Regions from separate parts of the Homo sapiens genome. Here regions 2, 3, 4 and 5 are each linked to region 1. The links are contacts of gene promoters, found by promoter capture Hi-C in blood cells and fetal thymus (Javierre and others, 2016). All regions are on one chromosome and are shown on one strand. Each heading gives the region's core, a stretch centred on a gene start or on the middle of the fragment in contact. The rest is flanking DNA. Distances are from core to core; before and after follow the strand shown. Region 1 holds the start of DOCK11 (dedicator of cytokinesis 11). Region 2 has its middle 1.6 kb from the start of SOWAHD. Region 3 overlaps UBE2A (ubiquitin conjugating enzyme E2 A). Region 4 overlaps SEPTIN6 (septin 6). Region 5 holds the start of STEEP1 (STING1 ER exit protein 1).

The links. The method cuts DNA at HindIII sites, captures the fragments that hold promoters and counts their contacts. A CHiCAGO score of 5 or more calls a contact.
Region 2: a fragment that was not itself captured here is called in contact with the fragment with the promoter of DOCK11 in region 1 in 2 of 17 cell types (non-activated CD4 T cells and activated CD4 T cells); the score reaches 6.2 in non-activated CD4 T cells.
Region 3: a fragment that was not itself captured here is called in contact with the fragment with the promoter of DOCK11 in region 1 in 1 of 17 cell types (activated CD4 T cells); the score reaches 8.8 in activated CD4 T cells.
Region 4: a fragment that was not itself captured here is called in contact with the fragment with the promoter of DOCK11 in region 1 in 2 of 17 cell types (activated CD4 T cells and total CD8 T cells); the score reaches 7.0 in activated CD4 T cells.
Region 5: a fragment that was not itself captured here is called in contact with the fragment with the promoter of DOCK11 in region 1 in 1 of 17 cell types (activated CD4 T cells); the score reaches 5.9 in activated CD4 T cells.

What each region holds. Positions count from the first base shown.
Region 1 is chrX:118,494,332-118,497,265 of GRCh38, reverse strand. DOCK11 (dedicator of cytokinesis 11) reads right to left here and starts at 1,451. Exons shown (of 53, transcript NM_144658.4): 1 at 1,193-1,451. The coding sequence starts at 1,294. RefSeq lists silencers at 924-983, 1,154-1,213, 1,304-1,383, 1,494-1,633 and enhancers at 663-1,641, 2,044-2,113. The HindIII fragment of the contact is 5,195 bases long and covers 1-2,934 here.
Region 2 is chrX:119,755,613-119,758,377 of GRCh38, reverse strand. No RefSeq gene overlaps it. Among named protein-coding and RNA genes, the nearest start is that of SOWAHD, 1.6 kb to the left of the region's middle. RefSeq lists a silencer at 1-40 and enhancers at 1,997-2,196, 2,207-2,266. The HindIII fragment of the contact is 940 bases long and covers 1,020-1,959 here.
Region 3 is chrX:119,581,365-119,584,426 of GRCh38, reverse strand. UBE2A (ubiquitin conjugating enzyme E2 A) reads right to left here. Exons shown (of 6, transcript NM_003336.4): 4 at 2,831-2,920; 5 at 1,751-1,839; 6 at 4-1,300. The coding sequence ends at 1,172. Among named protein-coding and RNA genes, the nearest start is that of UBE2A, 8.3 kb to the right of the region's middle. The HindIII fragment of the contact is 768 bases long and covers 876-1,643 here.
Region 4 is chrX:119,687,885-119,690,798 of GRCh38, reverse strand. The region is part of intron 1 of SEPTIN6 (septin 6); the gene reads left to right. Among named protein-coding and RNA genes, the nearest start is that of SEPTIN6, 3.8 kb to the left of the region's middle. The HindIII fragment of the contact is 318 bases long and covers 1,333-1,650 here.
Region 5 is chrX:119,563,080-119,565,816 of GRCh38, reverse strand. It overlaps STEEP1 (STING1 ER exit protein 1), which reads left to right and starts at 408. Exons shown (of 7, transcript NM_022101.4): 1 at 408-585. The coding sequence starts at 462. The HindIII fragment of the contact is 697 bases long and covers 1,038-1,734 here.

The DNA.
Region 1 (2,934 bases), core at 202-2,701:
AAAATTACAAGGAAAAGCTGTGAAGTTCCCTTCCGATGACAAGTTGTTTTAACAAAAAGAGCCCTCTCTTAAACGGTGAAATTTAAACACAGCAAACGACTCGCTGTAAAATGGAGCTGAGGGAGACAAAAACAAACAAAAACAACAACCAAAAAACAAAGTAACAAAACAAACACTAATTAATCAGTCCGATTGCTTATTCAGGGTTTGTTCGCTTGTCCAGGAAACTGGCAACGAGTGTCTTGAAAACAAGAGAAGGGGCAAGTGCCCGTTAGCACCCTTTAGCCTTTCTCCAGAGTCAGACAATCTGGATAAGGCTGAGGGTGCTCTGGGAGGGTTCCCAGGGAGTCAGCGCGCTTTCGAATCCCCATCCCCCAGTCCTGAGCTGTGGGGCTCTGACCCCAGGTCCTCCATCCCTGGACTGACACACCCAGTCTTCCCCCAAATCCCCACGGCACCGTCCCCTTGGTCCCCTTGCCTCTGGAGCGCTCGCGTGTCCCCGAGGGACACACTCTCCCTGCGGTGGATGACCCTGCGCCCACTCTGTCGCAGAACCCCGTTGTTTCTAATGCCCTTCCTCCGCAGCAGCACCCCTTCAACACCCATCACCACCCTCTCTCCCCAGTTGCAGGAGGAAGTCGCTCTGCTTCCTCTGTTCTCACCGCCAGCCCGAGCTTGGGCGCCCGGGGCTTTCTGGGTGGGGTTCTTTTTTGTGTACACAGTGTGTGTATGTGTGCGCGCGAGAGTGTGTGTGCCAAACGCTCATCGCATCCTTCCGCCTAGGCGGCCTCAGGTGCTCGCGGGAGGGGATCAGGATCTCGTCGTGCCCTTGTCCCCGGCTCTTTGTGCCGAGTCCAGAGCAGCGCGAGGTCAGCTCTTTAGCTCACACCCCCGGCCCCGACCCTGGGTGGGAGCCTCCGCCTCCGCCTCCTCCGCAGCCGTCCGAGCCCGGCTTTTGCCCGTCTGCTTCCATCCCGGCGCACGCCTCCGCCGTGCCGGGCGGCCGGAGAGCTGTCAGCCGGCGCCTGGGACTCGGACCCCGGCCGGCGGCTGCCGGTGCGAAAACTTACTGGAGCGGAGAAAGACAGCGCGCGGCGCACCAAGCGGCCGCACTGGCGCCGTTCCTGCCCCTTCCCGCGTCGCTCCCGCCTGGAGCGCGTCCCCCGGGATGCCCCGTCCCCCGGCCACTCACCAGCACCACGGAGCCCCGCACGGCCTCAGACACGCTCTGCCGGAGCTCAGCCGCCGTGCCAGGCTTGCTGAGCCGTTTGGTGAATTTGCGCACTTCGGCCATGGCAGCGGCGGCGGGCGGGTCTCGGCGGGCGGGCGGACCTCGGCGGGCGGGTGGACTCACTGCCCCGGCCCGCGGCGGCCGCGGCCGCTGCTGCTCCCTCTGTTTACTCGCCGGCCGGCCGGCCACATCGCAGCTCGGCGGCGGCGCGGCTCACGCTGCTCCTCCCTCCCACCTCCCACCCGCTGCTCCTCCCTCGTTCCCTCCTTCCCTCCTTTTCTCGCTCGCTTCGCCCGCTCACTGTCCTGCCCCACGGCGTCGGCGGCGGCAGCTCCCTCCCCTAGAGGGCCCGAGCTCCGATCGCCACCAGCCGAAGCAGGAGGGTGTGTCTGATGGGGAAGGGTGTGTAGAGGGGGAGGGAGAACTGGAGGTGGGGGCGAGGGTCACGAGGGAAGAGGGGGGAAGTGGCTACCGCTCGGGCTCCGCCCGCAGCTGATGTTGCTGGTGCAGCCGCATCCGGGAGGGGAGATCTGGGCTGCTTCTTTTTTTCCGCTTGAGTGGGGAGGGCGGGGTGGGGTGGGGGAACAGAGAGGGGTGATGAAATGTCTCCAAGAGTGGGGCGTGCTCCTCTCCCGCCCTAGTGCTCCTCTCCCGCCTCCGAGCTGCAGTGCCCGCAGGAGGGCTGGAGAACTCTCACGTCCCTCCACCCCGCAAGCCCCCAGGGCCCAGGCGGCTAGGGGCTGGAAAACAACGTGGAGCAGCCGCCTTTTGTGTGCTCCTTGGGGAAGGGTCGCACCAATGTCGAAGGACAGAGAGCTGCTTTCCAGCGTGAGCGGCTCGACTGGGTCCCCCTCCTCGCCCACACCGTTTTCCTACTCAGTTGGCTCACCTAACAGGGGGCAACACTGGGGAGAGAGCATGCTTCTGGAAGTGGGAACTTATTGTGGCGGCACCCCTCGCTCCGTCCCCCACGGGGGAGAGCTGGGTGGTGGAGCCTGAGCCTGTGGCAGGTGATCCCTAGGTCAGCACTGACTGCACCAGGAGTGGGGTGGGGGTGGGCATTAGGATGAGCCTGTGGCAGGTGATCCCTAGGTCAGCACTGACTGCACCAGGAGTGGGGTGGGGGTGGGCATTAGGAAGGCCATCTCCCTGGGTTTGGTGGACTTACCAATCTTATAGTAGCTTTTACAAGTGCCCTGCACTCACCTCTCCATTTCCTATTCATCTCCTTACTCTTTTCAGCTTCCAAGAAATTGTTTTTCCAAGAATCAAAGAACATCTCATAACAGGGTATAAAACGAACATGCTTAAGACAGAAATAGGGACGGGAATCTTGAAGTACTAGTGACCCTGTCAGACCTCCTGAAGTGCAGAGTGAAAGGCTCCACTGATGGTGGCAGTTTTCTATCTGGTTATTTCATTTGTTGAGAGTTTGAAAATGGCCCTCAGTCTGGGGGACCGAGCAGCCCTTCTGAAAGCAGTCCTACCACCACCCATCGGGCACTTTCCCCACCCTCAAAGACCAAACAGTCTTTTAGGGGACTTTATTATGGAAACAAGGGCATGCGTGGTGATGGTTTCTTTGAACCCAGAAAAGGCCAAGTCTCTTCGCAGTAAGCCTATTTCAGCCATCCCATCAGTCTCAATAAAGCATATATGGAGGCTCCTAGAGGGCCTGGGACCTGGAAGTCCTCTAAAGACAT
Region 2 (2,765 bases), core at 240-2,739, 1.3 Mb before region 1:
CGGGTCGCGGGCGGTCCCACCCCAAACGGCCAGGTGAGCTCGGCAGCCCCGCCTCCAGCACCGAAGGGCGGGCGCGGGGACTGGCTGGGAGCTCGCCTGCGGCCCTGGAAGCCGCGGTTCTCAGCATCCCAGCCGGGGCTAGAGTGTAGAGGCGCGAGGGCGCCCCTTCCGCAGCGGGCCGAGCTCGGCTTCCAGCCACGGTCTCCCAAAGCGCGGTCCTGGAGCTCCGAGGCTCTGGCTCCCCGCCCCCTTCCTTCGCCCTTCCCTCTTATCTCTTCAGGAGTCTCCCTGCACTTTGTCCCGGAGTTGCCATTGTCCCGCGCCTAGCATTCACGCAGGCAGCTCGACTGCCCCATGTGACTGGCTCGTCTGCCTGCCTTGCCCTTTGTGTGGCCTTGACCCTCGCCGCAGCACCCGGGGCTGCCCAGGATTCCAGCAGAGAAGCCCAAGACCAGGGTCCAGGCTGACGCTCTTCCAGGGAACTCAGGAGGGATATTCCCCTTCTGCACCGCCCTCTCTGTCCTGCTCTCCACCCTCTTCCCTCCCGTCAATTTTCCCAGGTTGGCTTGGAGAAGCAGCTACAGGTGAATCTGAGCCGGCGCCGCAGGAGCGCCCTGTTCTCTTTAGAGATGCATCCCTGCTCTCTCCCCAGGGCCCCGCTTTCTACAAATTCAAAGCTTAGGGGCTTTTTAAAAAAGGATATTTTTTCTTTTTCACTCCTAATACCAGCGTACTCTTTGCTCTTCCCTTCCCTTAGTAAATAGTGGTTCTTGCCTCCACACCCCCAGCATCTTAAGGAGCTCAGTCAGTGAGCAACGGGGAGCCATAGAAGATTGTTGAGCCGGGGAGAGACACAGCCATGATGGAGGTTGTGTTAAAAAGGTGATTTGGGAGGTGCAGAGGCAGGAAGTCGGAAGACTGTTCCAGCAGTCTAGGCCAAGGGGGATGGAGGCTCAGGCCAAATCAGCCCACTCCCTCGGGGCCACCTGTGGCAGCAGTGATAGAAGGTATCGGAAGCTTTTCTTCCTTGGCCCTCACGTATTTGGAACAAGTCCTAAATATCTAGAGCTTTCCTTCAGAACAGTTTATGCATTTGTAATTTGGTTTTGAACATTTACTATGTGCCAGGCACTGTGCTTGTTGCGTTATATATGTTAACTCTTTTAATCCTCCCAGTGACCTCAAGTGCTGGGAATCATTACTGTCCCCAGTTTGCAGAGAGGTTAGGCTACTTGCTCAAGGTCACCCAGCAGGAAGTGGCAGAGCAGGTCTGTGCGACACCATAGCCTTTGTTCTGGTACACAGGAACTGGCATTCAAGCCTGGCTTATCAACTGCAAATCACATACAAGCCCCAAATTCCAGCCAAAAGGATAGACTTGTAACGTGAGCGTATCTATAACTTACACTCCTCTGCCTGGAAGAGCTTCTATGTAGTGAAGTTCTTTTCTTTCAAGGTTGCGCTTAGTTTCCACCTCTAGCAAGCCTCCTCTGATTATCCCAGCCCAAAGTGATCCCTCTCTTTCCCCAGCCCTGTGTTTCTGCTACTTCTTTGGCCCCAAGACTGCCTTGTGTTACATCTCTCTCCCCTTGCTCTCATATGCCAATTAAACTATAAACTCTTGGACAGCTATGTCATACTATCCTTGTGCACCTAGTAGTTATCCAAGAAATATTTGTTACCTTGTTCTGGTTTGGCAGGCTGGGAAAATGTGATTGTGTGTGTGTATGTTGGGGGCGGGGGACATGTATCCACAATCAGCACCTCAATGCCTGCTCCCACATCCCTGCTCCAGACTCCAATCTGCAGGACATCAAAAGCAACTCATAGATTTGGTCAATTCATTTTTCTTTAAAAGAGATTCAGTGGTTTATTCACTGAGTTGACTGGCCAAAGCCACCTCCTGGCCTTCGCTGACTTCTCAGAGACCAGGCCTAGGCCCAGAATGGGCCCCAAGCTTTCAGGCTTTCATTTTCAAAATGAATCCTGACTGACAAGCAGCTACTTCCGTTGCTCTGGAGACTCCTCTCCGCAACCCCAGATCTGTAAACACCAAACCGCACACAGGCACACACACTTCCAGAATATGCAAACAGCTGCAGCAATATTTTTTTTTAAGTCAAAATGCCAGCATGGAAAATGCAGGATGGAAGAATGCTTGGACTATTAATTTTCGTCACCACTAAGCAGGCAACTCTCTTCCCTATCAGCATGAATAATATCTGTTTCCAGTTCAAAGATTGCAAAGGCAGCCGCCTGACCAGTGCCACAGACCCATGATACATGTGCCCTTGCTTAACTCTGCTGCTAGAGACCAAAGCCACGGTGCCTCCCTAGCAACTTGTTTCATCTTTAATTAGCAAGTGCTTTCTACCCTAGGTCACCAGCTGCACACACCACTCCCCAGAACCGCAACACCCATCTCTATTTTAGTAGAGAGGGTCTCAGGAATTTGATAGCAGGGAGTAGGGCAGAGGGAGTGGAAAACAGAAGGGATAGTACCCACCCACCTAAAATTAACATGCCAGTTATCTGAAACATCTGCTACCCCTCCAAGGGAGTGGGGCAAAAACCCCTCAAGCCCTGGGAAATGACTTCCCAAAAAGCTGGAGGTAGAGTAGATATTTGCATTGCAAATTGTAATAATACTGATGTCTTTTCCAAATAGCAGCCTCTCTAATATATTTGTGGGTTTATTTACTAGATCTTGGACTATTAGAACTAGAAGAGATCGGCTGGGCGCGGTGGCTCATGCCTGTAATCCC
Region 3 (3,062 bases), core at 10-2,509, 1.1 Mb before region 1:
CTATGAAATTTTAAGGTTATTTTTATTTACAACTTTTGAAAAATGTACATTTTTTTTTACATGGGTTACTTGTGCAAAGTTAGATTTGGAAGTGATAAATGCATAAAAGGTGACAATAGAACATTAGACAAAACATTTACAAGCCTTGTCCCATACTGCTACTTAAAGGTACTATATATCTAAAAGTATAAATATCCAAAAAAAGATCGCAGACATTGGCTTTAAGGTTCTCAGATGCTGAAAGGGAAGAAATTAAAGCATGCAGCAATAACTCAGGATTTGAGTGGAAAATAGTTTGCCACAGATATGCTATGCTCCCTTCCTTGAATTCATTAAAACTCTAAAATAAAGATGGACAATTGAGTTTATTCACTTAGGGCAGCACTGATCCTTTAAAAAGATTAAAGGAGCTCCAACTTTCCCTAGCTCAAAAACTCACGATTGTTTCCATTCCTCTGCTCCCACACCTCTTTTAAAAAGCAAAAACCCAGAAGACCAATAATTCTGAAACTTGGCATGAGTGTGCCCAGTCAGCAGCTTGCAAAGAGAGGATGTGTCAGTTACTACAATTGCTGTACTCCTTTAGCTGAGTCCTTCAACTTTCTCCTTCTTGCCAGTAAATACTACGTTGTAATTCATATGACTGAGATCTTAGTATCACAGGATTTTTAGCTCCCATGCCTCCTTCAAAATTGTTTACATGGATTTGTTTCTATTCTCTGTAGGCCATATTCCAAACACATTCACTTCTAAATCCAACACAAGTGAAGGACCAGCCAGGATGAAACACTTCAGCAATCATTTTGTTAAAAATAACATCCTGGTCATCAAGCTAAGCATAAGCACCTCTTGTATAACAATTCATCTTAAAAGCTTAAAGTACAATAATAAAAATAACTGCCTGAAAACTGGAAATGAAATACAACAGAAAAACTGAAGCATTAGTAATTTTTGCAAGTAACCCAGGTACAGTACATTTGATTTCATAGAGGGTGTTTTCTGATGTTTAAGGAGAGGGTAGAAGGGGTAGGAAAACTTGGCAAGGAAGATGGAAACAGCACAACAGTTATTTTGCTTTTAATAAAGTAAATGTAATGACAGGAGTAGGGAGGTGACAAACACATCAATATATATTTTTCTTATGGCCAGCTTCTTTAAACTGTACCCGGGGTCAACAATCACGCCAGCTTTGTTCTACTATTGCAGAAACACGCTTTTCATATTCCCGTTTGTTCTCCTGGTACAGCTGAGCAGCCTGGCTGTTTGCTGGACTATTGGGATTGGGTTCATCCAACAGAGACTAAAGAGACAATTTTTAAAATGTCAGTTCCTTAATGCAAAACAACTATTTTATAAGGTAGTGACACTCAATTGAATTGTCCTAAGTACAGCTACATTTCTTGTCTTTAGCATACAAACCCAGAGTTATGTGAATCTGCTAGTAGCTAGGAAAATATATGCGGCTTTTTTTTTTTTTAAGGGAGAAGAGTCTCACTATGTTGCCCAGGCTGGTCTCAAACTCCTGAACTCAAGCAATCCTCCCACCTTGGCCTGCCAAAGTGCTGAGGTTACAGGTGTGAGCGACTGTACCCAGCTGACTTGGGTCTTAATGGTCTACTTTTCATCTATAAAACAAACAAGCTTTGACCAAAAATAAAAAGATCTATTACATTATGACTTTCAAAAACAATTCAATTGCTAATATAAACATATTAAAAGTTATAGTTCGTCACATTAAGGAAAAATTCACCTGTATGGATGTTAGAATGGAAGACACATCATAGGTTGGACTCCAACGGTTCTGAAGTATGTCCAGACATATACTACCATCTGCATAGACTAAGAACAAAGAAGTAGGTACATTAAACGTAACAAGACCACTAAGGTTTTAACATTATAGACAAAACAAAAATAGTCAAGAATACTTTGCTTTTGAAGTTTAAAGATTCCTATGTTGCTTCCCAGTTAACTGCCTAAAAAGATAAGTCATAACCACCACTAGTGAAATAATCAGGATGATCAGAGAATGTCAGATGTGATCAGTATAAAACTGGAAGATATTTAGTGTTCATCCTTTGGAAAAGGCTGCCCTATTATCCAGGAAATCAGAAACATTTTTGAACAGGGTCCCTAGCTATCCACAGACATGTGGGAAATTCATTCCACCAAATTTGTAGGCTGTATCCCCTATCTGAAATAACAAAAGATCACTCAGAGTTCACAAGATTTCATTTTGGCATAAAGATAAACATATCTGATACCCTGAAAAATACTTCATTAACCTAAATAAAAGGCAAGCTGTTCTAGGCTTACTACTATTTTAAAAAGTGCAAAGTGGTTAAGTTAGAATCACCTGTGGTGCTTTTCTGACAATACCGTATGCCTGGCCTTCAACAACAGAATCCTATTCATTAGGTTTGGAGTGGGGCGAAGGCATCTGTGTTTTTAAAATGTTCCACAGTAATTCTGATATGCGTCCAATGAAAACTACTTTTCTAAACGCTAGTGAAAATAATTACAACACAAGACTATCCCAATCTGGCCTAGCATTAAAAGGAAACCTCAAGAGCATCCTTCATTTTGTTTAATAAGTAAATGACAAAGGTCATCAAAATCAGGAGGCTCCCAGACTCCAAGCAAAGGGAAAATACCTCCACTGCTTCAGTTCTAGGACAAGACAGCCACAGACAACCAAGAACAAGTTCAGCTTTCAAGAAGCAGCAAGCTGCCTAAACAAATACTCAGGCACCACAAAATACACAGGAAATGTGGAATACTCCATAATAAACACTATAGTAGTTTAAAACACTGTACTAAAAGTGATACTTGCCATTTGGATGGAACATCTTAGAGACAAATCTAACTGTAGGTGGTTTATTTGGATATTCTTCAGTGAATTCTATTGTAAGTTTAAATGTTCCTGTGGTTAGAAAAGAAAGATTTAAGAAAATGTATTTATCACTTTGTTCAGTAGTACTTTGTTTTTAATGCTATGTGGGTTTTTCCAAGTATTAAATAATGCAAAGATACAGGGTAGAGAGGAAAGGCCAGGTAAGAAATAC
Region 4 (2,914 bases), core at 242-2,741, 1.2 Mb before region 1:
TGGGAACAGAAGACTAGAGAATAAACCTAAGTGTGGCTAGCTTAGGAATTCTTTTTTTTTTTTTTTTTTTTTTTTGAGACGGAGTCTTGCTCTGTTGCCCAGGCTGGAGTGCAAGTGGCATGATCTCGGCTCACTGCAACCTCAGCCTCCCAGGTTCAAGCGATTCTCCTGCCTCAGCCTCCCGAGTAGCTGGGATTACAGGCACCCGCCACCACACCTGGCTAGTTTTGATATTTTTAGTAGAGGGGGGTTTTCACCATGTTGGCCAGGCTGGTCTCGAACTCCTGACCTTGTGATCCACCCGCCTCAGCCTCCCAAAGTGTTGGGATTACAGGCATGAGCCACTGCTCCCGGCCAGGAATTCTTTTTAATGAGCTCTGAGACGTGGTACCATGCGAGTAAGTGCCCTAGTGTGTGTGTGTGTGTGTGTGTGTGTGTGTGTGTGTGTGTATGTGTATGTATGTGGGGGGTGTGTTCTTTCTAGAATCAGTTGAGAGTCACTGTGGGTAAACATCCTTAGTGACTAAAACAAGCCTTCAAGTTGTTGGGTAGGGCTTACATTGCACGCAGCCAACTTGGAAGTTCAATTCTGGTGCACATAATACAAGTCCGTCCCATTTGAATGAACACCACAAACGGTTTGGTGTGACAACACCATTTCTCCACTGTGTCCATATTTACTTGATTGACTGATATGTGGCCAGCACTATGGTTAGCCCTTGTCAACTGGACAAAAAAAGGTAGCAGGCTTTAAAAAACGTTCGTGATCGGACTGGGCTTGGTGGCTCATGCCTGTAATCCCAGCACTTTGGGAGGCTGAGGTGGGCAGATCATGAGGTCAGGAGTTCGAGACCAGCCTGGCCAACATGGTGAAACCCCGTATCTACTAAAAATACAAAAATTAGCCAGGCGTGGTGGTGCGTGCCTGTAATCACAGCTACTCAGGAGGCTGAGGCAGAAGAATCGCTTGAACCCTGGAGGCAGAGGTTGCAGTGAGCCAAGATTGCACCACTGCACTCCAGCCTGGGCAACAGAGCGAGACTCCATCTCAAAAAAGAAAAAAAAGAGGCCGAGGTGGGTGGATCACAAAGTCAGGAGATCGAGACCAGCCTGGCTAACATGGTTAAATCTCATCTCTACTAAAAATACAAAAAATTAGCCAGGCGTGGTGGCGGGCACCTGTAGTCCCAGCTACTGTGGAGGCTGAGGGTGTGAACCTGGGAGGCGGCACTTGCAGTGAGCCGAGATCGTGCCACTACACTCCAGCCTGGGCGACAGAGTGGGAATCCGTCTCAAAAAACAAAACAAAAAAAAGTTCGTGGCTTTTAAGCTTATAGTCTAGTTGGAATGACAAATTGTGGACACTGTGAAATAATTAAAGAACTATAGAAGATCCTTGTGATGCCCCACCTCACCCCCTGACTATGAGGTGGCTTGGGCTGCTATTAATATATATTTCGAGAGGTTCCATGACTTGTCCAAGGTAACCAAGGCACAGGGCAAGCCCCAAAAGCTGCATGTGCTGGCTCTTTTAATGAGCTGTTCCTTTCAATGTTGCATTCTGGGATCCAGACCGTAAATGCCGGCCCATACCAAGAGCATCTGGATGATTCTGGCTTGAACTAGTCCCACAATGTGAACAATGAAGCTTTCTCTAGTGGCAATCTAGGTAGTGGTCATTCTCCCAAGTGAACTTTCAGGGGCTAACTTTGCCCTACAAAGTTAGCTGGGGTTGGTCTGGGTCAACTGTCTCAGAGCAACTGTCTTCAGGTGGGGAAAAGATTGCTGCTGCACTCTGGTTTTGCTATCATCACGTGGCAGTTACCCTTTGATTCCCTTTGAGGTCTCTGCTTCAGGCGTTCCTACCACCACCCACTAAAGGTAGTATCGTACCTCAAACATAGAAAACAAAACCCTATTACCTAGCTCTATTGGTGATACAACACGGAAGAAAGTTTACATGGCCCTAAATATTTAAAAATGTTGATTCTAAATTTGAGGGGTTTTTGGACAGTCATTACATTATTTTCTAACTTCTCTGTGTGTTTGGGATGTTTCTTTTCTTCTTTTCCTTTTTTTTTTTTTTTTCCCCGAGATGGAGTCTTGTTCTGTCGCCCAGGCTGGAATGCAGTGGCGCGATCTCAGCTCACTGCAACCTCCGCCTCCTGGGTTCAAGAAATTATCCTGCCTCAGCCTCCCGAGTAGCTGGGATTACAGGTGTGCACCACCGTGCCCAGCTAATTTTTGTATTTTTAGTAGAAACAGGGTTTCACCATGTTGGCCAGGCTGGTCTCGAACTCCTGACCTCGTGATCTGCCCACCTTGGCCTCTCAAAGTCCTGGGATTACAGGTGTGAGCCACAGCGCCCGGCCTGGGATTTTTCAAAATAAAAAGCGGGCAGAATGACAATGTCCCCCAAATGCACATGGTCCCTTCTTTCAAGGAACTGGTGGAGGCAGACACAAATCACTATCTAATTATCTTTGTGATAAGTGCTACACAGGAGAGTGACTGCCTGCCATGAGATTTCATTACTAAGGGAACCTAACTCAGCAATGAATGGAGGCAGAGGGTGACAGGAAGGGCTTCCTGAGGGCTTCAAATAGGAAATGGGTAGGTGTGAAGGTGGGTGAGATCTCACATCTGCTACTGGGTTGGGAACATTTCATTTGCCAATTCACCCACTTTTATTTTCATTCATTCCTTCAGCACATATTCACTGGGCACTGATCGGCCAGGCCCCGTGCCAGGTGCTGAGGATATAGTGGTGGCCAAGGCACGCAGGAACTCTGCCCTCTCACAGCTTCCAGATGAAAGGCAGGAATAAGCCCTGTTTCCTTTTTACATCCTAAATCCTGGAAATGTGAGTGTTAGCGGTGTTCTTAATACAAAACTACATTATAGCAGAGTGATT
Region 5 (2,737 bases), core at 137-2,636, 1.1 Mb before region 1:
GGAATAGTCATTAAAATCACAATCATATTTAGAAACACACCCAAATCAGTATCATATATATATATATATATATATAATATAAACTATATAATGCATAGTCCTTTATTTAGCTGGTCTTATATATACATATGTGTATATATACATATAAATGCATGCGTTATAGAAATGTAAAGAATTTATATAATATTAAGGGTGTTGTGAGAAAGCCCACCAATCTTCATTGAGAAGTGACTCCCAGATCACAGGAGTCCCAGCTAACTTGGCCAAGACAAAGTAGGTTCTGGGAGGCTCCAGGCGCACCCCCGTATATCTTAGCCTGATAGGACAGCCCGGAAGTTTATAAGACTTCTGCTAACACGTGACCAGCGTAGCCACAAGGAAAAGGTGCAAGGCGCACTCGTGACGTCATTTCGGGGCGACCCTCTTCTTGGCGTAGAGTTTTCAGATTGCTCTTGGGAATCATGCCGAAAGTAGTGTCTCGGTCAGTAGTCTGCTCTGACACTCGGGACCGGGAGGAATATGACGACGGCGAGAAGCCCCTCCATGTTTACTACTGTTTGTGCGGCCAGATGGTCCTAGTGCTGGGTGAGTAGCCGGGAACTGCGGGGGCGTCTGCAAGGAGCCAGACTTCGGGTTCTTGAAGGCGAATTTCCTCTGGCTGTGATCTGGGAGCCACTTCTCAACGAAGATTGGTGGGTTTTCTCTCTCCGACTAAATCCTCCCTACGCATCCCCGCCCCACTCCAGGGCATTTTTTTTTTTCCTGCTTTTTGTTTAGCCTTGTGACTCTGTATCCAGACCTTCCTCAAAACTAAACTCCTTCAGGAGAACAAAAATAGAAACACAAACATATTGTATTTCCCTCTTAATCCACTGTCTTCAAAAACTACTGCCTCTAGAAGCTTTATAACTTTTCTGCTGGATACCAAGATGCTGCAGTTGCTCTTACCTCACAGCAAACGAAAATAAAACCCTCCCTCGATCCTGTATTCCCCTCCAGCTATAACCCCATTTCGTTGCTTCTTTTATAGCAAAGCTTCTCAAAAGAGTTGCCTATATTGGCTGTCTCTGCATCCTGACTTCTAATTCTCTCCTGACCTCACTTCAGGTAGGCTTTCCTTCCCACCTCATCATCTTAACCGTATTTGGCTCCATGTTAACAGTTCTAGTGGTCAGTTATCAATGTTCATTTTAATTCTGTCAGTGGCATTTGACAGAGGTAATCATTTCATTCCTTTTGCAACATGTTTTTTATTTGCTTCCAAGACTCCATACTCACTTGATTTTCCTCCTACCTCGTATTTCCCCCCCCCCTTTTTTTTCAGATGGAGTCTCACTCTGCTGCCCAGGCTGGAGTGCAGTGGTGCAATCTCGGCTCACTGCAAGCTCTGCCTCCCGGATTCAAGTGATTCTCCTGCCTCAGCCTCCCGAGTAGCTGGGATTACAGGCGCCCGCCACCATGCCCGGCTAATTTTTGTGTTTTTAGTAGAGACGGGGGTTTCACTACGTTGGCCAGGCTGGTCTCGAACTCCTGACCTCGTGATCCACCCGCCTCGGCCTCCCAAGGTGCTGGGATTACAGGCGTGAGCCACCGCGCCCAGCCTTAGATTTTTCCCCTTGTCTGGCTCCCTTTTCTCTCTCAGACTTTTAGGCATTCCAAGGCCCTATAGCTCAGTACTCTCACCTGTTCTCACTCTGTACCCACCCCCTAGGTGATCTCATTCATTCCCAAGCTTTAAATACAACTGACATGCTGGTAACTCCCAGATGTTCATCTTTAACCTGCACCTCTCCTGAGACTCCAATTGCCTATTCAACATCTCCACTTGAATGTCTAATGGGCCTCTCAAATATATCGTGCTGAAAATTGAGTTCATGACCCTCTACACCCCCTCTCCAATTGCTCCTCTTATAGTCATCCCTATTGCAGTCAGTAGTACAACTATTCATCCAGTATCTCAGACCAAAACCTGGAATCAGTCTTGACTTCTGTCTGTCACGTACCTTACATCTGTCCAGTCCATCAGGAAATCCTGCAGGTGCTTTCGTGAAAATGTATGCAGGATCTGACTGCTTCTTACCACCTCCATTCCTTTTTCTTTTTGAGACAGAGGGAGTCTCACTCTGTCACCCAGGCTGGAGTGCTGTGGCGCGGTCTCAGCTCACTGCAACTTCCGCCTCCCAGGTTCAAGCGATTCTCCTGCCTCAGCCTCCCAAGTAGTGTGCGCCACCAGGCCCGGCTAGTTTTTTTTTTTTTCTTTTTTTTTTTGAGATGGAGTTTCGCTCTTCTTGCCCAGGCTGGAGTGCAGTGGTGCGATCTCGGCTCACTGCAACTTCCACCTCCCAGGTTCAAGCGATTCTCCTGCCTCAACCTCCCTAGTAGCTGGGATTACAGGCATGTGCCACCACGCCCGGCTAATTTTGTATTTTTAGTAGAGATGGGGTTTCACCATGTTGGCCAGACTGGTCTTGAACTCCTGACCTCAAGTGATCCACCCACCTAGGCCTCCCAAAGTGCTGGGATTACAGGCATGAGCCACCACGGCCGGCCTACCACCTCCACTTCTAACACTGTAGTCCAAGCTACTACCATCTTTCACCTGGATTGGCACAATAGTCTCTTGCTCTCGTTGCTTCCACTCTTTTCCACATAGTAGCCAGAGTCCTGTTCAAAACCAATGGTTTCATATAACACTGAGAATAAAACCAAAGTCCATCCATACCAAGACCCTTGATCA